Linked DNA regions of Homo sapiens: regions 1, 2, 3, 4, 6 and 7 are each linked to region 5. Evidence: promoter capture Hi-C in 16 types of primary human blood cells and fetal thymus (Javierre and others, 2016). All regions are on one chromosome and are shown on one strand. The core of a region is centred on a gene start or on the middle of the fragment in contact, and the rest is flanking DNA. Distances in the headings are between cores, read along the strand shown.

The links. The method cuts DNA at HindIII sites, captures the fragments that hold promoters and counts their contacts. A CHiCAGO score of 5 or more calls a contact.
Region 1: a fragment that was not itself captured here is called in contact with the fragment with the promoter of RNF7 in region 5 in 1 of 17 cell types (fetal thymus); the score reaches 7.3 in fetal thymus.
Region 2: a contact is called between a fragment that was not itself captured here and the fragment with the promoter of RNF7 in region 5, in 1 of 17 cell types (neutrophils). The highest score is 5.5, in neutrophils.
Region 3: a fragment that was not itself captured here is called in contact with the fragment with the promoter of RNF7 in region 5 in 1 of 17 cell types (fetal thymus); the score reaches 7.7 in fetal thymus.
Region 4: a fragment that was not itself captured here is called in contact with the fragment with the promoter of RNF7 in region 5 in 1 of 17 cell types (fetal thymus); the score reaches 6.6 in fetal thymus.
Region 6: a contact is called between the fragment with the promoter of TFDP2 here and the fragment with the promoter of RNF7 in region 5, in 4 of 17 cell types (fetal thymus, monocytes, naive B cells and 1 more). The highest score is 9.0, in fetal thymus.
Region 7: a fragment that was not itself captured here is called in contact with the fragment with the promoter of RNF7 in region 5 in 1 of 17 cell types (neutrophils); the score reaches 6.7 in neutrophils.

Annotation. Positions count from the first base shown.
Region 1 is chr3:142,027,143-142,030,208 of GRCh38, reverse strand. The region is part of intron 3 of TFDP2 (transcription factor Dp-2); the gene reads left to right. Among named protein-coding and RNA genes, the nearest start is that of TFDP2, 120 kb to the left of the region's middle. RefSeq lists enhancers at 876-925, 1,332-1,833 and a silencer at 2,220-2,269. The HindIII fragment of the contact is 1,428 bases long and covers 595-2,022 here.
Region 2 is chr3:141,456,283-141,459,470 of GRCh38, reverse strand. No RefSeq gene overlaps it. Among named protein-coding and RNA genes, the nearest start is that of RASA2, 29 kb to the left of the region's middle. The HindIII fragment of the contact is 9,299 bases long and covers 1-3,188 here.
Region 3 is chr3:142,207,837-142,210,780 of GRCh38, reverse strand. All of the region lies in intron 3 of GK5 (glycerol kinase 5), which reads left to right. Among named protein-coding and RNA genes, the nearest start is that of GK5, 16 kb to the left of the region's middle. The HindIII fragment of the contact is 1,645 bases long and covers 716-2,360 here.
Region 4 is chr3:142,228,989-142,232,182 of GRCh38, reverse strand. No RefSeq gene overlaps it. Among named protein-coding and RNA genes, the nearest start is that of GK5, 5.0 kb to the right of the region's middle. The HindIII fragment of the contact is 3,566 bases long and covers 64-3,194 here.
Region 5 is chr3:141,736,654-141,739,595 of GRCh38, reverse strand. RNF7 (ring finger protein 7) reads right to left here and starts at 1,298. Exons shown (of 3, transcript NM_014245.5): 1 at 1,080-1,298. The coding sequence starts at 1,254. RefSeq lists enhancers at 147-825, 1,026-1,265, 826-1,505, 1,616-1,665, 1,706-1,755 and silencers at 826-1,005, 1,266-1,525. The HindIII fragment of the contact is 15,473 bases long and covers 1-2,942 here.
Region 6 is chr3:142,148,143-142,150,969 of GRCh38, reverse strand. It overlaps TFDP2 (transcription factor Dp-2), which reads left to right and starts at 1,426. Exons shown (of 13, transcript NM_001178139.2): 1 at 1,426-1,787. RefSeq lists silencers at 1,151-1,200, 1,311-1,520, 1,581-1,650, 1,881-1,930 and an enhancer at 1,281-1,781. The HindIII fragment of the contact is 3,426 bases long and covers 1-2,197 here.
Region 7 is chr3:141,231,106-141,234,139 of GRCh38, reverse strand. It overlaps PXYLP1 (2-phosphoxylose phosphatase 1), which reads right to left and starts at 2,315. Exons shown (of 6, transcript NM_001037172.3): 1 at 2,229-2,315. RefSeq lists a silencer at 2,197-2,576. The HindIII fragment of the contact is 5,995 bases long and covers 1-3,034 here.

The DNA of each region.
Region 1 (3,066 bases), core at 59-2,558, 290 kb before region 5:
ACCCTGTATTGTATTATTGTTGTCATATCTCTGTATGCATGTAAGTATAATATGTGTTGGCAAAGGAAAATTTTGAGTAAGAAGAAGCTCTCTGATCTATTTGATTCAATATGTATTTGAGTGTCTAACAGACACTGTTTTAGACACTGGTGATACAACACTGAACGGAGCACCAAATACTTTACAGCGTCTCCTGGAGCTGTTGTCAAGACATACTTTCCAAGGGGAATATTTCAGAATAGGTGATAACTAGTCAACGAAGGAAAAGTACCTTAGTCATCTAGGAGAGTTGTACTTAGAGTGAACTGAAATAAACTAAGCTCACGAAAGACAGAGATTTTTTGTTTGGCTTTTGTCTGTTGCATTCACTACTGTATCTCCAGGGCCCAAAATAGTGCTCGGCTCATAATAAGTATTCAGCAAATATATGTTGTTGATTGGAGTGTTTGTTTTGAATTTCTGTAATCAAACACATACCTTGGTAAATTATCTTTACATCTTGCTAGTTGAAAATTTTATCTCAGTTGCTTTGTTTTTAATGTTACCTTGCTTTTTGTTTCTACTTGTGCCATACATCAGGATGCTGGAAAAGCTTATTAATATTGACAGTCATATGGTTATCTGATATTGAAAAGAATAGATTTGGAAAGGAACCTAAGAGGTCATCTTTTGTTCAGCTTCCTGCCTAGGAAAACTAAGTAAGATGATTAGGTATGTATATTTAATTAGTCATTTAAAAAAAAACCAGGACAACATAATTGAGTTCCCTCTTGAGAAAATGGAGAAAGGTACTTAACCCTAGCTATAAAGGGACTAACCTGGAAATTTTAGAACTTCTGTGTGGGAAAGTGGAAAAAAAAAAAAAGCACAACTAAGCTGCTCTTTGTTGATATCAGAAATGGGCCTGTCATTCATTTTGGCATTGAAGCATAGCCTCCTATCTCGGGGCAGGACTGGGACATTTTTTTCCTCCCACAAGAGCTGGACAGTTATTACAGGTTCAAAAAGCCCCGACCAGTTTTTCAAGAGTTTCTCCTCCTCTTTTCCCCCTGAAACTCGTGGTGCTTTTGCTCTGCTTTCAAGATGCATTAAGTCTCCTGCTTTGTGACTGCTTTGGAGCCAGCAGATACTCTGATATGTATAATTCAAATTATGCAGGTTTCACGAGTAAGTTTAATCTTATTTTTTAAGTTAGTTAAAAGGCAAGTGATATTTAGAAAAATGTTAACTTGTAGTTATTTCACCCTTTTTACTTTAAGCATTTTTATTGCTTCTCGGCCTTTTGGCTAAGATCAAGTGTGTACTTTAAGCATTTTTTAAAATAAAAATATCCTTTTAATTTAATAAGAAAACAAGGTTCTACATAGAAAAGCCCCTTCATCTAAGACCTGCACTTTTCAATTTCTTTTGAGATGTCTTTGTTGTAAACAGTATTCATATGTCTTTTGAAAGCCAGTTAACTAAACAGTTTTCTTGAGCATCTTTTTAGTTTTACTGAGAAGTATTTTAAATTGAGCTTTTCTGAGCTCGATTGCTTACGTCTGACACAGTCTCAAGTTTCCACTGAATGGTAACAAAGACTGTAGAATGTTGTTGGTACTGCAGTGAGAGGCATGCTTCCTTAGACCAGGTAAGAGAGATCAGTTTGTTTCTCACTGCTGGGTGAGTTTTTACAGCTCTTATTTTATATTCTTTAAGCAGCAGCAATATTAAATTGATAAATAGCCAGGAGCACGCTGATTTCAAGACGTCCTTGCTTGTTGCAGACAGAAAAACTACAGGGTTATGTATGGGGGTTGGGGTGGGGGGGGAGGGGAAGAATTAGTTTATTACTCAGTTACTTATATAAATTAATTAAAATGTGAAAATAATTCTGGAGCTCAGTTTTCTTAATTCAGGAACTAAAGCAGCAGTTGAGGAAATCAGTAATTTTAAAGGTACTTCATGGTTATTACTTGTGAAAGCAATTCAAAGGATAGTTTTTACTTTCATTTTTTTCCCCAGTAGTTAATAAAATAAGCTTTGCCCTTAACTAAACATTTTTTCCACTTACGAAAACTTTTAAATTGCCAACAGCAAAATATACTTCCCAAGGATCCTTGGAAATCAACCTGACACTTGAAAAATATTTCAGCTTTTATAGCTGTTTCATTCCTTTTTTTCCCTAGTACATTTTTCTTAAAAGTATTTGTGCTTTGAAAATGTCAGCTGTATTCTAATGAAGCTTAGGCATTGTTTGCTCATAAAGGGGCCGGTGCATTCCACTGCTTTATGGTTTATTATGAGGCACAGTGTGAGAGTGTGGGTGGCACCATTTGGTGTCTGCCTCTTGGGGTAGTGACTGCCATTATGTTAGCCTTGGACTGGCAAAGAAAATATAGCATACAAGATGCTATATGAATCTGGATACTGTGAAGAAAATCTTACCCCTAAACAATTCTTAATGACCCCGGAATATATGACAACTTGATTGAATTGATCATTTCAATTATACCCTTGAAGTTTGCATTTTAGTTACAACGTATATTCTATTAGACACGTCTTATTTTTTGATATATAATAGCATTTAGTCATTCTTTGAAGTTCAATAAGGAAGTGAATGTTTCTAAACTATGATGTTTTTAATAGATACAGTGAAATTTTAAATAATACATTTACTTAAAAAAGTTTTAAGGAACTTAGTGTGGGTGGGGAGCGGGAGTGGGAGAGGGAGAGGGAGAGGGAGAGGAGGTCAGGCAGAGAGTCTTTCTTCTTTCAGTTAGGAAAGCCCTGGTGAAGAAAAAAAGCAACAGATGTTTCTTCTGTTACAATTGAGGTTGTTTCATTCAAAACTCAGAGTAGCTGGAATGGAGAGAGGAGGTCATAAATCTGATTTAATCAGTGAATAAATAAAATTTAGTCATTTAAAATTTATTATTTTATATTCAGGAATTGAAAGTCATAGAGTAACAAAATGAGTAACATACCCAATATTTAAAAAAAAACTTTAAATATTGCCTGTAGCCTGTATAATTAATGAAAATGTGAGAAAATTAATTCTGTTGAACTTCACTTAAGGAAAAAATT
Region 2 (3,188 bases), core at 285-2,784, 280 kb after region 5:
ACCTATCCTGACATATCTATAATGGAATACTCCAGGCTAGAAAGCTAGACAGCCAAGTTGAAGCCATCGTGATGGCTTTGAGGGTCCCTCATGCAGAGTTACTGACTAAGCAGCCCTTGTCCACAAAGCTCTCGTCCCCGTGGAACCACGTGGTGGCACTTGATGGCCATTCCCAGCCCACCCAACCTTCTCTGATCACCGTGTTTGTCCTTGGGGTGGGGCCCCTGCAGCTATCTTCTACTATAGGGCTCTGTCCCTTTCACCAGAGCTCATCAGATCATGGGAGAACCAGTCTCTTTAGTGGGGGTGGGGAAGGAGGGCCGTGGATTCCTTTGCCTGTGAGGTCCTATAGGGCTGGCTAGTATCTTCCATCCACAGGCAGGGAGAGGCAGAGAAGGCTGATGATTAGCACAGACAGAAATGAAGAAAGGTGACACGGGGGACACAGAGATGACAAGAGGTGGAGAGAGGGAAGTTTTCTGCTTCCTGTTTCCAGCTTTTCCCTGTCCTCCCTTAGTTTCTTTTTTCCTTCCAACATCACATTTTGCTTAAGCAACTAAAGATCCCTAAGACACGAACTTCTGTTTAGTTTGCATTTAATACACAGCAGAAGAATTCCAAAAAGTTTTACTTGAGAGCTCAGAATTGGAATTACCTTCATTCCAACTACCAAGAACCCTCAGAATATTGTATGGCCTCTGTTCATCATATTTTCTGGTTAAATAAGAGTTAAGCAGAAAACTTTTTTTCTCTTTGTTTATATCTGTATTATAAAAATATGTCTAAAATGTAAACACAAAAGCAAAAGATTAGAAACAAATGCTAGCCAATTATTAGACAATGGGTTAAACATTCATACAATGTCCCATGATTTGAGGGAGCCTAAACAAATTCATACAATGGAATACTATGCAGTCACTAAAAGAATAAAAGAGATCCATATGTCCCAGCATAGAAAGTTTTCCATTATCTATTGTTAAACAAATGAAATAAGGTAGTGAGTGGCATGTGTAGTGTGCTCTCATTTATATACAACAAGAAAAAGAAAGGAAAAAATTTGTAAGTTTAAATGCACACACACATATATATATTATATATATATAAAATATATATATGCTTAGATATGCATGGGATATCTATGGAAGGACACCCAAGATCTGGTAACAGTGTATACTTTTAGGGAGAAACCTGGGGGCAGAGAGGGAGGGAGACCATTTTTCTCTGTGTACCCTTTTGCAGTATTTGAAAATTATTTTTTCTGTGTACATGTATTAGCTTTTAAAATACATACATAATACACAAGTACACAAAAATGTATTATCTCTCTTTATACTACAATTACAGAGTAGTCATTTCTCTTAATCATACGAGTTCCTGGAACTTGAGGTAGGCAGATCTTCATACATGTCCACACTGGTTGGGTCACCTATTCTAACATGTTTGCTTTCATGCATAAAAACCATTGAGTGGCCAGGTAAAAGCAGGAAGAAGTGAAGGCTGGTGTTCCTGGAACCACACAAAGTGAGGGCAGAAGGGAAATGTGGAGAGTGTAGTCTGAGCACCAGTAAGTTGATATCTGAGGTTGAGGAACTGCCAGTCAGTAAACTGGGGCTGTCATTCCTGTGTGGATTGTCATCACTCAGAGCAGCAGAGTCCTTGGACTTGGGCCTTCACTTGCTGCATTGATTAAATGGTGAAAACAAGACCTTCTTTCCAGGTTCTTCTGAATAAAGATGAAAGTATGTGCCTGGCTCAGTTAGTCTTAGCTCGATGCAGAGTGTTTTGTGGTCATTTTGATAAATTTTTCTTTAATGTGTCCTGAAAGGAGGTGCGTACCCTATATTAGTAGAGATTCTGAGTGTCAACTCTGATGTTAGATGTCCTGGATGTGGATTCAGACTCTGCTCTTGAGAGGTTATCATTAGAAATATCTCTGCTCCCTTTGAAGACTTTTTATTTTTTTTTTTGAAGAGTGTGTTTTCACTTGTTTTGGAGAACTTGATTTCACTCAGCATGGATATCTTTGTCTATCAACTGGGGAGAACCAGTCTGAGACTGAAGCTAATGCAGAGGAAAGTAAGAGAGAAAAGGGACAGAGAGTGAGGGGTTGAGAGAGATATCATTTTGCTAGAGCCCTTGAATTCAGTTTTGCTTAAAGCCAGCTATATCCTCCCCATATCATGAACAACTGGGTTTCTATCTCTGGCAATGGAGAAGGTCTTGACTCAGTTTCCTCATTCTTGTGTTGAGATTTAAAAAAACACGTGCTAGAAACCGGCTTATATGCTTCCTTCCCAATCCCATCAGGTGGCCACCAGTCACCTGATCCTGATTTCAGATATGGTCTGAAGGTGTGGCTGATGAATAAGAGGGTTAGGGGGTTTTCCTAAAGGAAATTCAGGTGCTTTCACCCATAAACATAGAAAAGGACTCAGCAGGAAAACCTGTAGCTTTCCTCCACACTGGGCAGGATGTAGTGGAAGACTTGTACTCACTGATTTTTAGGGTGGACGCTATCAAAAATTCTGAGAGGCAAATGCCTTGTGTGGGCAGCTGGAAGCAGTATGGTGAGCTTGGTTTCCCAGGAGGTTTTTCAGAGAAATGAGAGAAGTAGGAGTGACTGTGAAATCACTGAAGGATTTTAGTAGGGCTCTGGAGATTGGGTCCCAAGGTTCTTCCCTCCATTTTCTCATGCCAGACTTGTGCAGCCTGGCCAGATTTCTGTGTGGCCTAGGTGTTTCCTCACTGCTCAGGAAAGAACGTCCTATTAGTTGTTTGAAACTGAAATTGGCCAGTGAGTTCTACTTCTACCATGCCTGCTGATGCTCCTTTCCTTTCTGAAGAGGCTCTTCCCCGTTAGGGTGACCCATCGTCCTCATTTGCCTGGGACTGTCTCAGTTTTAGCACTGAATGTTTTGCAACTTGGGAGAGTCTTCAGTGCGAGGCACACCAAGGCAGTTGGTCATCTGGAGTGGCGAATCGGCACACTTCATAGATGACTTGCATTTGACCGCAGCATGCTGATGCTGGGAACATCCGGGAGGAGCTCGCTGGCTGACGGCAGAGGCAGAATTGAAAACGGCTGAATCCAGAGAGCTGTGGTGGGGCTGGAGGTCAAGGCAAGCAGAGGCGTGAGGGGCTGTCTCACACAACACTGCAAGGAAGAGGCTTTTGATGGGGCCTTTGAA
Region 3 (2,944 bases), core at 289-2,788, 470 kb before region 5:
AGGACTATACATCACCATTAGAAGGAATAGAAGAGTTAGATTTCAAGACAGTTCACTTTCCTTACTGGTGGTGGTGGTGTTGTAGAGGGATAAGACTTCTTCCTAAAGCAATTCATTGTGAGTTTTTTATCTTGGCTGTCCTTTTTTCTTTTTTGAAATGTTTGTATTCTTTCATGAGTTTTGGGAACATTCTTTGCTTGTAGAAACTGAAATAGTGGATATTTTTTGAAGAAAGACTGAAAGCCTTTGTGCTTCTTTTACATTAAAATAATGGAGCGGAGCCTATTCTGCTCATTGGGCCCCAGGGAGCCAATGTGGTGTATGATGCTGACAGATTCCACAAGAGCCCTAGCAAACAGCCGGGACACAACACAGATGGGCACAGCACAGGGCCAGCCAGAAGCACTAATTGTTCATTTGTGAGAGAAAAGGAGAGACAGACTAGATCCTGTGGAAAAACCTATTGTTCGTTCCAGTCCTGGCCAGCAGCTCCTCCTCCCAGCTTGTTGTTTTTTTCCTCCTGCATCCATGGTGCATTTCTGTCCTCATGGCCATAGAAACATTATTTTCCTCACAGTTGCTGTCAGGAGGTCTAAAACTTTGAACTTTCTTTTTGTTTTTCTCCCTATCTCTCCCCCATCCCCCTGTTAGGGACCAGGAAACTTACGAACTTTTTTCAGTCTTTGAGCTTTCTTCATGTTCTTCAGGTTAAGCTTTTTTTCCAATATATTCAAAAAGTGGTGTGTTTAGCCTGCTTTCTAAAATAACTCTAACTGATAACACTTCCATTTTGGTTCTTTTAAATTCCTTTTGTTCTAAAAAAAAAAAATCACGAGCTGTTTTGTTTCTTTAGTCAATGTCTCTTGGGAGATTTCTGCCAGCTAACTTCAGATCAGGGTGTGTGCCAATTAGCAACACAAACTGTGAGTCATGGGAGCCTGGATTCACTCATAACTGTTTGAGGGCTCACAGGGAGTAATGCACCGTGCTGGGGGCTGCACTGCGTATACAGATGAATAAGAATACCAGCCCTAATTTACAATCTCATTATATAGGTACACAAATTACTCTATATTCCCATTGCACAAAATAGATTTTTATTGTAGTATTTGATACTTACATTAATGAGTCTTACCAAATACTTATGACTTAAAATATATTAAGAGCCACAGAATGATGTAAAGTGTTAGAAGGGTTTAAGACAATTAATTTACAACATTGCCATTTATACTTTTCCTTCATTTTTCCTTTTTTTGTTGATAGAGATAAAATAAACCCAGGTCAGTGCTGAGTGAATATTGGAATGTATGCTATTACTTGAAAAATCAGTATTCTAGATTGTCTTGTTCTATGTTATAAATTAATGATGCCACTTTCATCTTGTGATTTTGTCTCTCCCCCTCACTGCTTTTCAGCCACACTAGCCATTCAGTTCCTCTAAGACACGCTTTATCTTGCTCTAGGACATTTGAACATATAGCACATTTTGTTGGGAATGTTCATACTTCTGATTCCTTCTTATCCTTCAGAGCTGAGATCCATTGCCATTTCTGAAGCCTTCACTGACCACCACACAGGGGCCATCTGTTAAATACTCTCATGGCACCTCTATTTATCCATTTTTTTTTTTTTGAGGCGGAGTCTCACTCTTTTGCCCAGGCTGGAGTGCAGTGGTGCTATCTCGGCTCACTGCAAGCTCTGCCTCCCGAGTTCACGCCATTCTCCTGCCTCAGCCTCCCGAGGAGCTGGGACTACAGGTGCCCGCCACCGCGCTCGGCTAATTTTTTGTATTTTTAGTAGAGACGGGGTTTCACCATGTTAGCCAGGATGGTCTCGATTTCCTGACCTCGTGATCCGCCTTCCTCGGCCTCCTAAAGTGCTGGGATTACAGGCGTGAGCCACCACGCCCGGCCTCTATTTATCCTTTATAGGGCGTATTCCAGCTGTAAGTGAGCAACTGAGTAATTGATTATTTGTTTACATTCCCTGGTAGAAAGTACAGTCATCAGGGCAAAAGTGCTGTGTGTCTCTGTTCATAGCTGTGTACCCAACTCCTGGTACAAATTGGCTTATAAATTTTTGCTGAAACCAGTGATTGAACATCAGATTTAAGTGTATAAGTATGTGCTGTTGTAGAATGGCTCTGAAGAATTATATATCAATAGATTTTATCTTTATCAAACACAATCTGATCTTTGACAAAGGTGCTAAGACCAGCCAGCAGAACAAGAATAGTTTTTTCAACAGATGGTGCTGGGAAAACTGAACATTCACATGCAAAAGAATTAAATTGGACCCTTACCTAATACCATATACAAAAATGAATCCCAAAATGCATCAAAGACCTACATTTAAAAGCTTAAACTATAAACTAAAAACTCTTAGAAGAAAACAGGAGAAAATCATCATGACTTTGGATTTGGCAGTGATTCCTTAAATGACATCAAAAGCAGTTAACAAAATAAAAAATAGATAAATTGGACTTTATATATCAAAGGACATTTATTTTTTCATTTGTTTATGATGACTAATTTTTCAATTTTCTTAACTATTGGAACTCTCCAAAGTAGAAAAATTACCCTAAATTTAATTATAAATAATAAGTAAGCTATGTTAAAATTAATTTGACATAATGTGCAATTTGCATTTAAAAAATGTCTGAAAAAATTTAGTCATTGATATCTAATATGCAGTTAGGCTTCAGAAAACCACCTGCAGCATGTAACGTGGAAGGTGTGCATCTTGGTAGGTTTGATTTGTAATTTCATCCAAGATTGAGGACTAAAACAATAGGAAATCACTCCTCTGATTTGTACTCATGATAATGGTGACCATTTGGATCTCTAAAGCGAAAAGAAGTAACATGCTCATGATCTAGGTAAATGTTGCGATTTCCATTAATAAAGGTGAAAAACAGGACCCTATCAACAGAGTGAATATTGCG
Region 4 (3,194 bases), core at 597-3,096, 490 kb before region 5:
GCTAGGGCTCTTCTCAGGGTCTTGGCAGGGGCCCATGCCAGGGAGGGGCCTGAAGCTTAAGCTTCATTAACTCCACAGCTCATCTACCTCTGTCCTGCAGAGAGAGGGGTCTGGGCTCCAGACAGTCAAATCAGGAAACTGAGACAGCTGTCCACTCCAAAAGAGGCAGGGCTCATAAAACAAGGGTTAAGAAAAAGGAGGTGGCTTAATGTTCATGTGGTTATTCAGGGAAGCTAGCTCAACCCCAGGCCTGTTCAGGTTGGATGATCTGCATTGGTGGTCACATTACAATGTGCCCAGCATAGTGCAGAGATTAGGAGGGGCCCAGTGCCCTCTATGTCTTGTGGCCAAGTCAGGCAGAAGATGAGGTCTGGTAGGGACTTGTACATATTTGTTTGTTTATTCAGTCATTGAATACTTTTCCTTCCTTCCTTCCTTCCCCTTCCTTTTCTTTTCTTCCTTTCTTTCTCTCTCCTTCCTCTCTCTTCTCTTCTCCTTTCTTTCTTCCTTCCTTCCCTTCTTTTCTCCTTCCTTCCTTCCTTCCCTGCTTCCTTTCTTCCTCTCTCTCTCTTTCTCTCTTTCTTTCTTTCTGACAGTCTCGCTCTATTGCCCAGGCTGGAGTGCAGTGGTGCGATCTTGGCTCACTGCAACCTCTGCCTCCCGGGTTCAAGTGATTCTCATGCCTCAGCCTCCCACGTAGCTGGGATTATAGGCATGGGCCACCATGCCCAGCTAATTTTTGTATATTTAGTAGAGATGGGGTCTTGCCATGTTGGGCAGGCTGGTCTTGAACTCCTGGCCTCAAGTGATCCACCTGCCTTGGCCTCCCAAACTGCTGGGATTACAGGGGTGAGCCACCGCGCTCGGCCAAGTCACTGAATACTTTCTGTGCCTTGAGGAAAAAAGACTAAGGCCCCATCCCTGCTCTGAAGGAGTTCACTGTCTAAAACCAGCAACTGACACCAAAACATGATGTAGCCAGAGTCCCCAAAGGAAGTTACTTGCAGAACCCAAGAGCCTCTAGGAAGACTAGTGAAGAGGAGGTTGGGATGATGATTAGGCCCTAAAACATTGGTAGGAGCACTTGGAGCTTCTGAAAGGAGTAGGATGACCAACTGTTCCAGCTTGCCCTACCAACTCCTGATTTTAACAAAGTCCTGTGTTCCAAGAGATTCCTCAGTCAAGGGAAAACTGGGATTGTTGGTCACCCTAGGAGGAAGGGACACTGACTAGTTTCTTTGGAGGAAGGAGGGCATTGAGGTCACTGGGATCAGTCCTGAGGCACCATTCATTTCCCTTTGGGGTGTGACAGGGAATGATGACCTTTACACGATTTCTGATCGAGCCCTGAGGAGCTGCAATCAAATTTCTTGAGAGTGTGGGAGGCTGGTACAAGGATTTGTAATCCTGGGCCTGCTTAAGAAGGTAACGTGTAAGAAGTGGCAGTGGTGGAGAAGCAGCCTGGGAGAGCAGTCCAGCCCAGAATCTAAGATGTAGCAGCTGGGTCAGATGAAAGATAAGGCCACCAGGTAATGCAGCACACAGCAGCAGTGGCCTCTGAATCAATAACAATGGACTACCCCAAAGAAAGGAAATCAGTACATCGAAGAGCTATCTGCATTCCCATGTTTATTGCAGCACTATTCACAATAACCAACATTTGGAAGCAACCTAACTGTCCATCAACAGATGAAATGGATAAAGAAAATATGGTATTACACATAATGGAGTACTATTCAGCCATTAAAAAAATGAGATCTTGTCATTTACAACAACTTGGATGGAAATGGAGGTCATTATGTTAGGTGAAATAAGCCAGGCACAGAAAGACAAAGTTCACATGTTCTCAGTTATTTGTGGGAGCTACAAATTAAAATAATTGAACTCATGGAGATAGAGAGTAGAAGGATGGTTACCAGGGGCTGGGAAGGGTAGTGGACAGGGGTGAGGGGTAGGGCCGGGGGAAGTGAGGATAGCTAATAGGTATAAAAAATGGAAGGAGTAATAAGATCTAGTATTTGATAGCACGACAGGGTGTCTATAGTTAAAAATCACATTTTTTTATTTCAATAGCTTTTGGGGTACAAGTGGTTTTGGGTTACATGGATGAATTATATAGTGGTGAATTCTGACATTTTAGTGTACCAGTCACCTGAGTAGTGTACATTGTACCCAGTAGGTAGCTTCTTATCACACACCCCCGTCCCACCCTCCCATTTCTGGGTCTCCAAAGTCCGTTATATGACTTTGTGTACCTTTGTGTACTTAGCTCCTACTTCTTTGGTTTTCCATTCCTGGGTTAATTCACTTAGAATAATGGGCTCCAGCTCCATCCAAGTTGCTGTAAGACATTATTTGATTCCTTTTTATGGTTGAGTAGTATTCCATAGTGTGTGTATATATATATACCATATTTTCTTTATTCACCCATTAGTTGATGGGCACTTAGGTTGGTTCCATATCTTTGCAATTGTGAATTGTGCCATAATAAATATATTTGTGTAGGTGTATTTTTCATATAATGACTTATTTTCTTTTGGGTAGATACCCAGTAATGGGAATCCTGGATCAAATGGTAGATCTACTTTTAGCTCTTTTAAGGAATCTCCACACTGTTTTTCATAGAGGCTGTACTAATTTACATTCCCAACAGCAGTCTGTGTTCCCCTTTCACCACATTCACACCAACATCGACTATTTTTTGATACAGTCAATTTAGTTGTACATTAAAAATAAGAGTATAATTTGATTGTTTGCAACACAAAGGATAAATGCTTGACATAAAAGATACCCTATTTACCTTGATGTGATTATCATGCCTGTATCAAAATATCTCATGTAACCCAAAAATATATACACCTACTATGTATCCATAAAATTTTTTAAAAATTAAGAAAAAAGAATGACTGACCAGCTATCAAAGGCCTTAGAAGCCTCTGAGCCCTGTGCCTTGTTGCCCATATACTCCTTTCCCTTAGAGAAGAGCAGGGTTAGAGGTGCTGACAGAGAACAAAGCAAGTGGGAGAAACAGGTATCTCTTTGTTCTCCCAGGCCTCTCCTACTCAACAGTGAAATAAGATCTTGATTTTTATCTGAGATCTTTATGTTTGCTTTACCCAACACCCAGCACCTGAAGTTATGTGCAAAATTTTGTGTGTATAAGCATCTTCTTGGGAAGATAGTGTTCATTATGG
Region 5 (2,942 bases), core at 49-2,548:
TCTCATTTTTCAAGACAAGTCACAGTTTTCAAACGATAGAAATGTCCGTTTTCTTTAACTACCCTCAATAAAGAATTCCACTGAAGAGGGTCTCATAGTAATTTTAAATGCCCTATCTGAAAATACAACTTGCATTTAAATAGCACCTGCTTTTCAAAGTGGTCTGAGTTCTTAGAACCATATAAAATATAACAAGATTAAGCTGTTCTGAAAAGTTTCACTTGGTCTAATATTTTAACTCAAAATATCACAGAAAGAAGACATATTTGTAAGAGGGTTCTCCACAAAGGCATGACTCAGAGCAGCACAGTATCTTCTCCAGGAAATGGCATCCAATATGGAGAGGGGGGTGTGATGGAGGTGAAGTTTTACGTTTCTGAAAAAAGGGCTTACAATTCTTCAGCTTCCATGAAACTTAGATATTCTTGAACCACACTGTTCCCTTCAAGCCACGCTAGTGCTATCTGACCCGTCTTAAATCAATCCAGATTTAAAAGCCATTCGAAGAGCGGCGGTAAGCTAATCCGGAAATGCAATGGCTATGAACACTTTCCTGCGTCCCTCGAGGAGAACTAAGGGTGTCGTTTTGTGGAAGATGACTCTGGAGCATCACTTTGGTGGTGACCAAGACTATTAAAGTTCACTGCTGAATCACGGCCTTTACCCTGACCACCTTGTGTTGAGCTTTTAGAGGTGGGGCTGGGGCTGGACACACAAACCGAAGTGTTTCCTGCTAGTTCCCAACAATCACCCGGTTTTACTTTCTTGGTCACACCCATCACTACCTGAAATTACCTTGTTTAACTCCGTTTATTGCCCGTCTCTCTCCCTAGAACACCAACCACCCGGCGCAGGGCGCCTGTTGCACAACCCCGCAGCCCCAGGCGGCGGCCGCAGCCCTCAGGAGCCGCAGCAGGAGCGTGGCTCCGCGTTCCTCCGGCGCCGGGGCAGGGCGACCTCCACCCACTCTCCCAGGCAGGGCACTTTCCGAGGCTTCTGACGGACGCCCGTCCCTTCCCAACCCCGAGGTCGGCTCCCGGAGGCCGCAGGGCGGCCCTGGACTCGCGTGCAGCGCTTACCCATCACCTGGACCCTGCAGATGGCGCACGTATCGCACTCCACGTCCCAGCTCCACATGGCCACCGCGTTCCACTTCTTGAGGGAGAACATCTTGTCGCCTCCCGACTTGGAGCCTGAGCTCCCGGAGTGAGAGGCCAGGGCGCAGGTTTCCTCTCCGTCTTCCACGTCGGCCATGGCGGCGCCGCGGAGCCGACGGCGGAGACGTTGGCTTGGGGAAGGCGGAAGGCTAGGGCGGCTCTGTGGAGCCGCCCGACGGGCCACAGCGCCGCCCGCAGGCCGCCAGCCACCGTGGTGCCTAGACCCCGGCTGCCCACGATTGGCTGGCGCGGCACAGTGACGTCACCTGACGCCAGCGCCAGGGGGGCGGGCAGGCCCCGCCCTCGCCGTCCTAGGCCAACTGAGAGGGCTCGGGCCCTTATGGGGCGACGCCGCTGAATCTGCCTGCTGCGCTGCGGGGTGTTACGTCTGAGCAGGCGCACAGATTGTGCAGGGATATGTGTCCTGCTTTACGGCTTCATTAAACCTACTGCTCTCAGAAATTATCTTGTTAATTTATTCGTTTGTCTCTTCCCTCCCAAATGTAAAACTCTATCAGAGCAGGAAACATGTTGCTATCACCACATTATCCTCCGTATCTGCAAAATGCCTGGCCACAGGAGGCACAATTATTTGTTGAGTGAATAAATGATCTTAAAGATCTAGAAATCTGGTTCAGTGATTCTCAAAACTTTTTGGTCCCAGGACTCCTTTTCACTTAAAAATTATTAGGACCTTAAAGAACTTTTATTTATGTAGGAAATGTGTAAATATATATATATATACACACACACATATTATGTATGAATATATATACACATATACAATGAATATATGTATATTCATATATACATACATTTCCTGTATATGTATACACACATATGTAGAGATTAATGTTTGCTTTTGAAGAAATTAAAACATTTTAAAATGTATTCATTAAAAATCACAGTAGTAACCTCATTACAGGTTATCATTAGAGGGATGACTTCACATACCATGTAGTTGCTAGAAACTCCGGTGTACACTCGTAGAATGAGAGTGAAAAGAGAGAAATAGCTCTAAATATTGTTAGGCAACTAGTTTGCCCTCTTTTGACCGCTAAAAGAGGTCGGGATCCCAGGAGTCCCGGTGTGTGGCGACACAACCCACACTTATTTTTCAGGCCCCGCTCCCTCAGCTGCACAGTCTCCATTCCTTCTGCTCAGTACATTTGAGCTAGTTTAACTTCCTCTTTTTATATGTAGGACTAATGAGGTCTGAAGAAGTGAAATGACAAAGATCACATCGTTATTATAGTAGTGCTTCTACGGCTAGCCCACCATCACATGTGTTTCCAAGAAAGCCGGTATCTCCATTGAAAAGAAAACAGAAGCACAGCCAGCCTAAGGAGATGCCTGACCCCACCATCACCTAGTGGTGGACAGCTACTCTGTCAAGTTTGGATTCTGAGCCTCTCCCCATCCCCTCATTTCCTGATACCTGGGCAAAAGCTAACCAGACTAATGGAGCCTGGCAGGGGAAACAAGAATGCATTAATATACAGAAACATAAATATGGACACAGGGTCACATTTGGTTAGATGCAAATGCGTATTTGTTGAGTGGTGTGTTAAGGGCTGTGAGGGTACAGGATGCAGTGAGGGAAAGCCTCATGAGAGAGGTAGAGGATGCAGTGAGGGAAAGCCTCATGAGAGAGTAGAGGATGCAGTGAGGGAAAGCCTCATGAGAGAGGTAGAGGATGCAGTGAGGGAAAGCCTCATGAGAGAGGTGAAGTTTGAACTGGGGGAACATGGGAGGTCTTCAGGGCCAGTGGAGAGAGCAAACCTC
Region 6 (2,827 bases), core at 177-2,676, 410 kb before region 5:
AGTGGAGTACTGCATTTGACATTCTTGGACTCTCAGGACTAGTTACATGCAATTATGCATACAATTGTCTCTCCACCCTGCCCCAGAGAAAGATCTGAAAGTGCTCTCTTACCTATCTCATCTCCTTTAGGCATTTGCTTAAATACCACCTTCTCCGTGCTACCTTCCCAGATCACTCTATTTAGGACTGAAGCCATTCCTCCAACACCTCTGCTTATATTTTTTTCCCATAGCACACATACCAGCATGTAATATAGTTTTTGTTTTACGTATTCTTTTGCATATTATCTTTCCCATCCTGCTAGAATGTAAGCTCCATGAAGGCAGGAGTTTTTGTCTCTATTTTGTCCACTGATGTCTCCCCATATCAAGAATAGTGTTTGGGGCCGGGCGTGGTGGCTCACGCCTGTAATCCCACCACTTTGGGAGGCCCAGGCGGGAGGATCTCTTGAGTCCAGGAGTTCCAAACCAGCCTGGGAAACATGGCGAAACAGCCGGGTGTGGTGGCGCGGGCCTGTAGTCCCAGCTACTCGGGAGGCTGTGGTGGTAGGATCACCTGAGACTGGGAAGTCAGGGCTCCAATGAGCCGTGATCCTGCCACCGCACTCCAGCCTCGGTGAGAGCAAGACCCCGTCTCAAAAACAAACAAAGTGGCATATAGAAGATCTATAAGATTTGACTGGAGTAAAATGAGAAAGATCTAATCGTTTTAATGCGCTGTTCACACGGGGTTTTTAACTTCGGCACGAACGAATGAACAAAATCTTTTCATATGGAACCAAGTGTACGGGTATTTGGGGTGTGTGCAGTTTCCGCGGGACAGAATGACCTGTCCTGGTTTGGGTATTAACTTGCCTTGATATTGAAGAACCTCCACATTCCCAGTGGTCTCTAACTCATTGTCTGAATAATTTCAAGGTGTCCCACAGTTGGCCCCACGCATAGCCTCAATCACGATCACTCGCCCCCCTGTCCCTTATTGATGCTCCCCCAGGGCGACCCCGCAAAGGCCTGGGGACCGAATGGAACTGCCCCAGTCCCCCTCCTTCCAAGAGAGCTGGGGTTTTCTGGCTTCGGGGTCAGTTGGAAAAGAGATTCCCACCCAAGTCGCAGGGTGGGAGTAGGGGGGATGAGATAGGAGTGATGAAGGAAGTGTGTCTAAAATTCTAGGCCTCAGGCCCGCAGCTGTCCCTGGAGGCGGCGGGGAAGCGGGGTGGTCGGGTCCTGCGGAGGGCTCCCAGGGAGGCCACAGGGGGAACCAAGGGGCGGTGGCTGAGTGCACGAGTCCCGCCCCTCCATCTGTTGGCCCCCTACTCTCAAAGGGAAGCCTGGGGGCGGGGTTTGTTTACTCCGTGCACGCACTGCCGGCCCGGCCAATCCGTGGGGAGCGGCGCCAGGCGTCGCACATTCTGAGGGCCAATCGGCGCGCACTGTGCTGCTCCGCCGCCAAAGCTCGCGCGGGGGAAGCGGGGCTGTAGCTGGGCAGGGAGAGGGCGGACGAAATCGGTAGCGATCTCGGCTGCGGCGCTGCCGCAGCTGCCCGGCCCGCGGGGCGCGCCCTGACCCTTCATCTTTGGGCAGGCTCGAGGGCGCGCGCACGGTTGGCGTTCTGGGGCCTCAAACTCCTGGGCCTTGACCGGGCAGGCCGCGTCTCCCCGGGTGTGAGTCCACCGGGACCCGGCCGCCGCCTAAGCGCGGGCGCCACAGAAGCGGCGGCGCCCGAAGACGCGCTCCTGGCTCGGCCCGACAGCCTCGCTTGGCCGCCAGTTCTTCTGCAGCCGAAGGCGGTAAGGTCTGGGGCGAGGGCGCGGGCCCGCGCGCGGAGGGCCTTTGGACCCGGCCGGGCGCGTTCCTGGGTAGGTTTCCCTCCCTGCGCACAGGGGCCCCCTTGTTCCCCCACGAGTCCCATCTGTTTAGACCTGGGTTCTCCAGGCCTGGCCGGGTAACCCGTGAGTGTCTGGGCCAGAGTCGAAAGCAGAGGAGGGTCACCCTCTTAGTGCATAGAGCAAATCGGGGGAGGTAACGTCCCTGAGTCACGCCTCGTGGAAGAGGGGAAGGGCTGCTTTCTACTTTCTCGTTCTCTTCAAAGAAGGATGGCTTCTAAATCTGGTTTTCCGATTTTTCCCTTCTCCTTTCATGACTCACAGGCCTCTGTGTCCACCAGGTGTTTTGTTTGTTTTTAAAGAGTTTCTAAGCTTTGTGTGCTTGGAAGAACCTCATATGCCCCATAAAGGAACTTTTCTCTGAAGTAGAGGATCGCTTTTTGGGCCCAGACTCCTTTGAGAAAATCTGGAAAGCCAAGGTCTGTCTTCACAAAGAAGTGTAAGGGTTTTCCTAGGATCTCGCTGAGAGACAGTACAACGAAGTGGATGAGCGCCCCAGTCTCTCTTACCAGCCTGTGCTATCTCCCATTGTGTGATCTCGGTTTCTTCATCTGTAAATTAGATGCATCCACCTATTCGGTGTGTTTCGGGGAGTGAATGGACTAATGTATGGAATGCAATCGTAAGAAAATCCTCCACGTATTAAATGCCTTGCATTAGTTAGGCACTTTTATTATTGACTGCCATGGATGCTGGTTTAGAAAAAGACCCTATATTATTTCCCTTTTAGTGTTGAGACAGTGAACGGGCTCATTCCTTTTCCATATTCACTGCTGAAGCTGCCTTTGAGCCCATGAATACTTTTATCTTTTCCTCATTCCATCTCAGAGGGCACAGACTCCCTCTCACTTATTTGCTTTCTTTCAGTAAGGCTCTCTTTTAGCTCAGCCTTCTCCTTCCCCTGTCTCCCCGAGATCTGAGTTTTGTGTCTTTTCATTTGACTT
Region 7 (3,034 bases), core at 437-2,936, 510 kb after region 5:
GGGTAACATTTTGAACAGTGTAGCAAAGTGTAGAAAACATTGGTTGTGAACTCAGACTAATTCACCGGGGCATCCATTTTTTTTCCTCACAAACACTGAGTACCCCTATGTGGTAGACAGGGGGGACCAGGCAGGGACCTGGGGCCACAGAGGTGGTTCCTTCCACCCATCCCTGAAGATGCTCCTGCACAGTGGGGCATCTGACAGCGACTCATCACAGAGCGGTGTAGGGAGGGCCAAGGAGAAGCCCACGGGAATTTCTGGACAGAGAGACCCTACTGAGCCCCAGTATGTCCTTGGGCTACTTATCTAATCAATAGTGAAGTAATATTGAGCTAACTATTCAAGCTGATCAATAGAAAAAAGAGTTACAGATACTGCAGTTCCACAAACACTCGGAGTGCTGTGCTCCAAAGGCCAGGTGGCCCACGCTGTTCCTGGTGCCCAAACGCAGCCTCCCAAGGCATCAGTGAGGATGGGCTGGCCAGGAGCCAATCCCTAACAGAGAAGTTCCCCCTACACATCCTTTCTCTGAGATAAGCAATTAATTTAATCCAAGACTTAATGAAAGCCAGGAGAAGGGATGGGGCAGATTCATACACTGGCTTTCAGGCTGTCCCGTGCATCTTCACCTCTCTCCAGGGACCACGAGGGTTTTTTTTTTTTTTTTTTTTTTGACAGGGTTTTGCTCTTATTGCCCAAGCTGGAGTGCAATGGCGCAATCTCAGCTCACTGCAACCTCTGCCTCCCAGGTGCAAGCGATTCTCCTGTCTCAGCCTCCTGAGTAGCTGGGATTACAGGTATGCACCACCACGCCTGGCTAATTTTGTATTTTTAGTAGAGACGGGGTTTTTATGTTGGTCAGGCTAGTCTCGAACTCCCGACCTCTGGTGATCCGCCCGCCTCGGCCTCCCAAAGTGCTGGGATTACAGGCGTGAGCCACCGCGCCCGAGGCCTTTTGATCCATCTGCTATAAATCCCCTTCCCACAGATGTCCCGATTGGGCACCAACACCTCTGAGGAGGGTAAGTTACTGCCAAGCCCGACCGCAGTCGCATCCCGTTTGAAAGGGTGGGCTCCGCACTGCCAGCTTCACACCCACGGGCCTTCTGCAAATATCAACAAACGGCTCCATTTGTGGAGCACTCTCCGATCCCCCATCCACCCCCCTACACTTCCCCATTCACAGCTCGATCTGATTCCCCATCTCTCCTGATTTTACTTGTTGAATGCTTACAAAGGATCCTTGCCTTTCCACAAAGACACTGGCTAGCCAGGCGGTGATAACCTCACTCACTACAGAGCCCCCTCGCAATCGCTGAACTCACAGCCGAAGCGGGAAAATATGGCTCCACGTCCTGCACCGTGAATCCTTTACCATCCACAGGTACAATTTAAAAGGCAGCTGCGGCTGCAAAGCAGGCAACCTACCCTAAGCAAATCCATTCTCTCTCTCTCTGTGTGTGTGTGTGTGACAAACCCAGCTTATTTAAAAGATCAGGACATAGGCAAGTTCACCAGCAAAAGCAACGTCGTGGGTCTACACCACACGGTCCTAACCTGCGCATCCAGGAATGTTAACCTGCGCTCGGGCGGCCCCGTGGCCAGGCCCGGGACTCCCGGAGGCGTCAGGCTGCAGGTGGCTGCCAAGAGGAGCCAGCCCCGTCTCCGGGAAAGGCCGCGAAGTTGCGGCCGCCTCCTTACCTGGAGACTAGCCGGCTCAGGACCGCCCGGGAAGGGGGATCCCGGGAGCTTGAATCTCGGCTGGAATCCAGCGGCGGGAGTGCGGGGGCCGTGCGGGAGAGGGCTGGAAGGGCGGGGGCGAGGTGGAGGCGGGCTCCGCGGGAGAGTGCGGGGCTGCGGGGGGCGAGGGCTTGGAGACAGAGCCGGGGGTTCGCAGCGGGCGTGAGACGGCGCCAGCTCTGGGAGAAGGGGGCTATGGGGCGGGCGCCGGGGCTGGGACACCGGGCGCACGGGGGGAGTGGCAGGAAAGAGGGCGCAAGTCCTAGGCTCAGGGGCGAGCGCGGGGATAAAGGAGGAGGCTTAGTCGCGGGATTCGGACCCGACGCTTCGAAGCGCCCCCAGCCTTCCCGCCCCTCTCCCACTGGCGAGTTAGGGGGACCCCCTCAGTCTCCCAACCTCGGACCCTGGACGCCCACCCGCCTAGAACCTCTGCGCTGCTCGGCCCCAACGGCAACCGCCCCGGCCCAGGCCCGCGCCGCACTCACCGCCCATGGTCCCAGGCCGGCCCCAGCTCCGTCGCTGCGCGCCCGGCTCGGCGCTCGCCGCCAGCTCCTCCCGGCGCGAGGGGAGGCGAGGGCGGCGCGCACCCGCCACCGGGGAGCTCGCGGGGCCCGGCAGCGCCCCCTGCCGACCCCGCCGCGCCCCGTCTCAGTTCGGCCGGCCCTGCACCAGGAGCCCTGGAGCTCCGCCCCGGAGGCGGTGTTGCGGTGCGGCTGGGCGGGGGCGACCGCGCGGGGTTGCTGAGAGGACACTGCCTCTGGGAGGCCCAGCACAGCCCGGAGAGACTGGTCAGTCTGCAGAGCCCTCGGCGTGCAAAGCCACGGGCACGGACAAGCCGAGCGCGCAGGGACCACGACCACAGACGCGCAGGGCTCTCGCGTGCCTCACAACTCCTGACCTGCGATCAGGGACTGCGCGGAGGCGCGCCAAGGCCCAGGAACACAGCCCTGGCCGGCCCGGGCCCTAGTGTGGGTGCTTTGGGGCCATGTGCCTGCCCTGGCGCCGCTGATGCTATCGCCGGGTGGGCGCGCGCGTCTGGGGTGCGCCTGCTGCCACGTAGACCCAAACTGTCACCCCCCACCCCCCACCCCTTTCGGCCTATCCCACACTCCTCTTCCGGCTCAGAACACATCCGGCCTTGTGTTGCTCTAGTCCTCGCTGCTGCTCCGTCTCCAACGGTCTGCAGAGACCCGGGGAGGTCGTGGCCCCGCGCAGTCGCCCTTCCCACCTGCTCCCGGCCCGCGGCTTCCTTGGAGCCGCTGCTGAAGATCCTCAGAGCACTTGAGGGCTG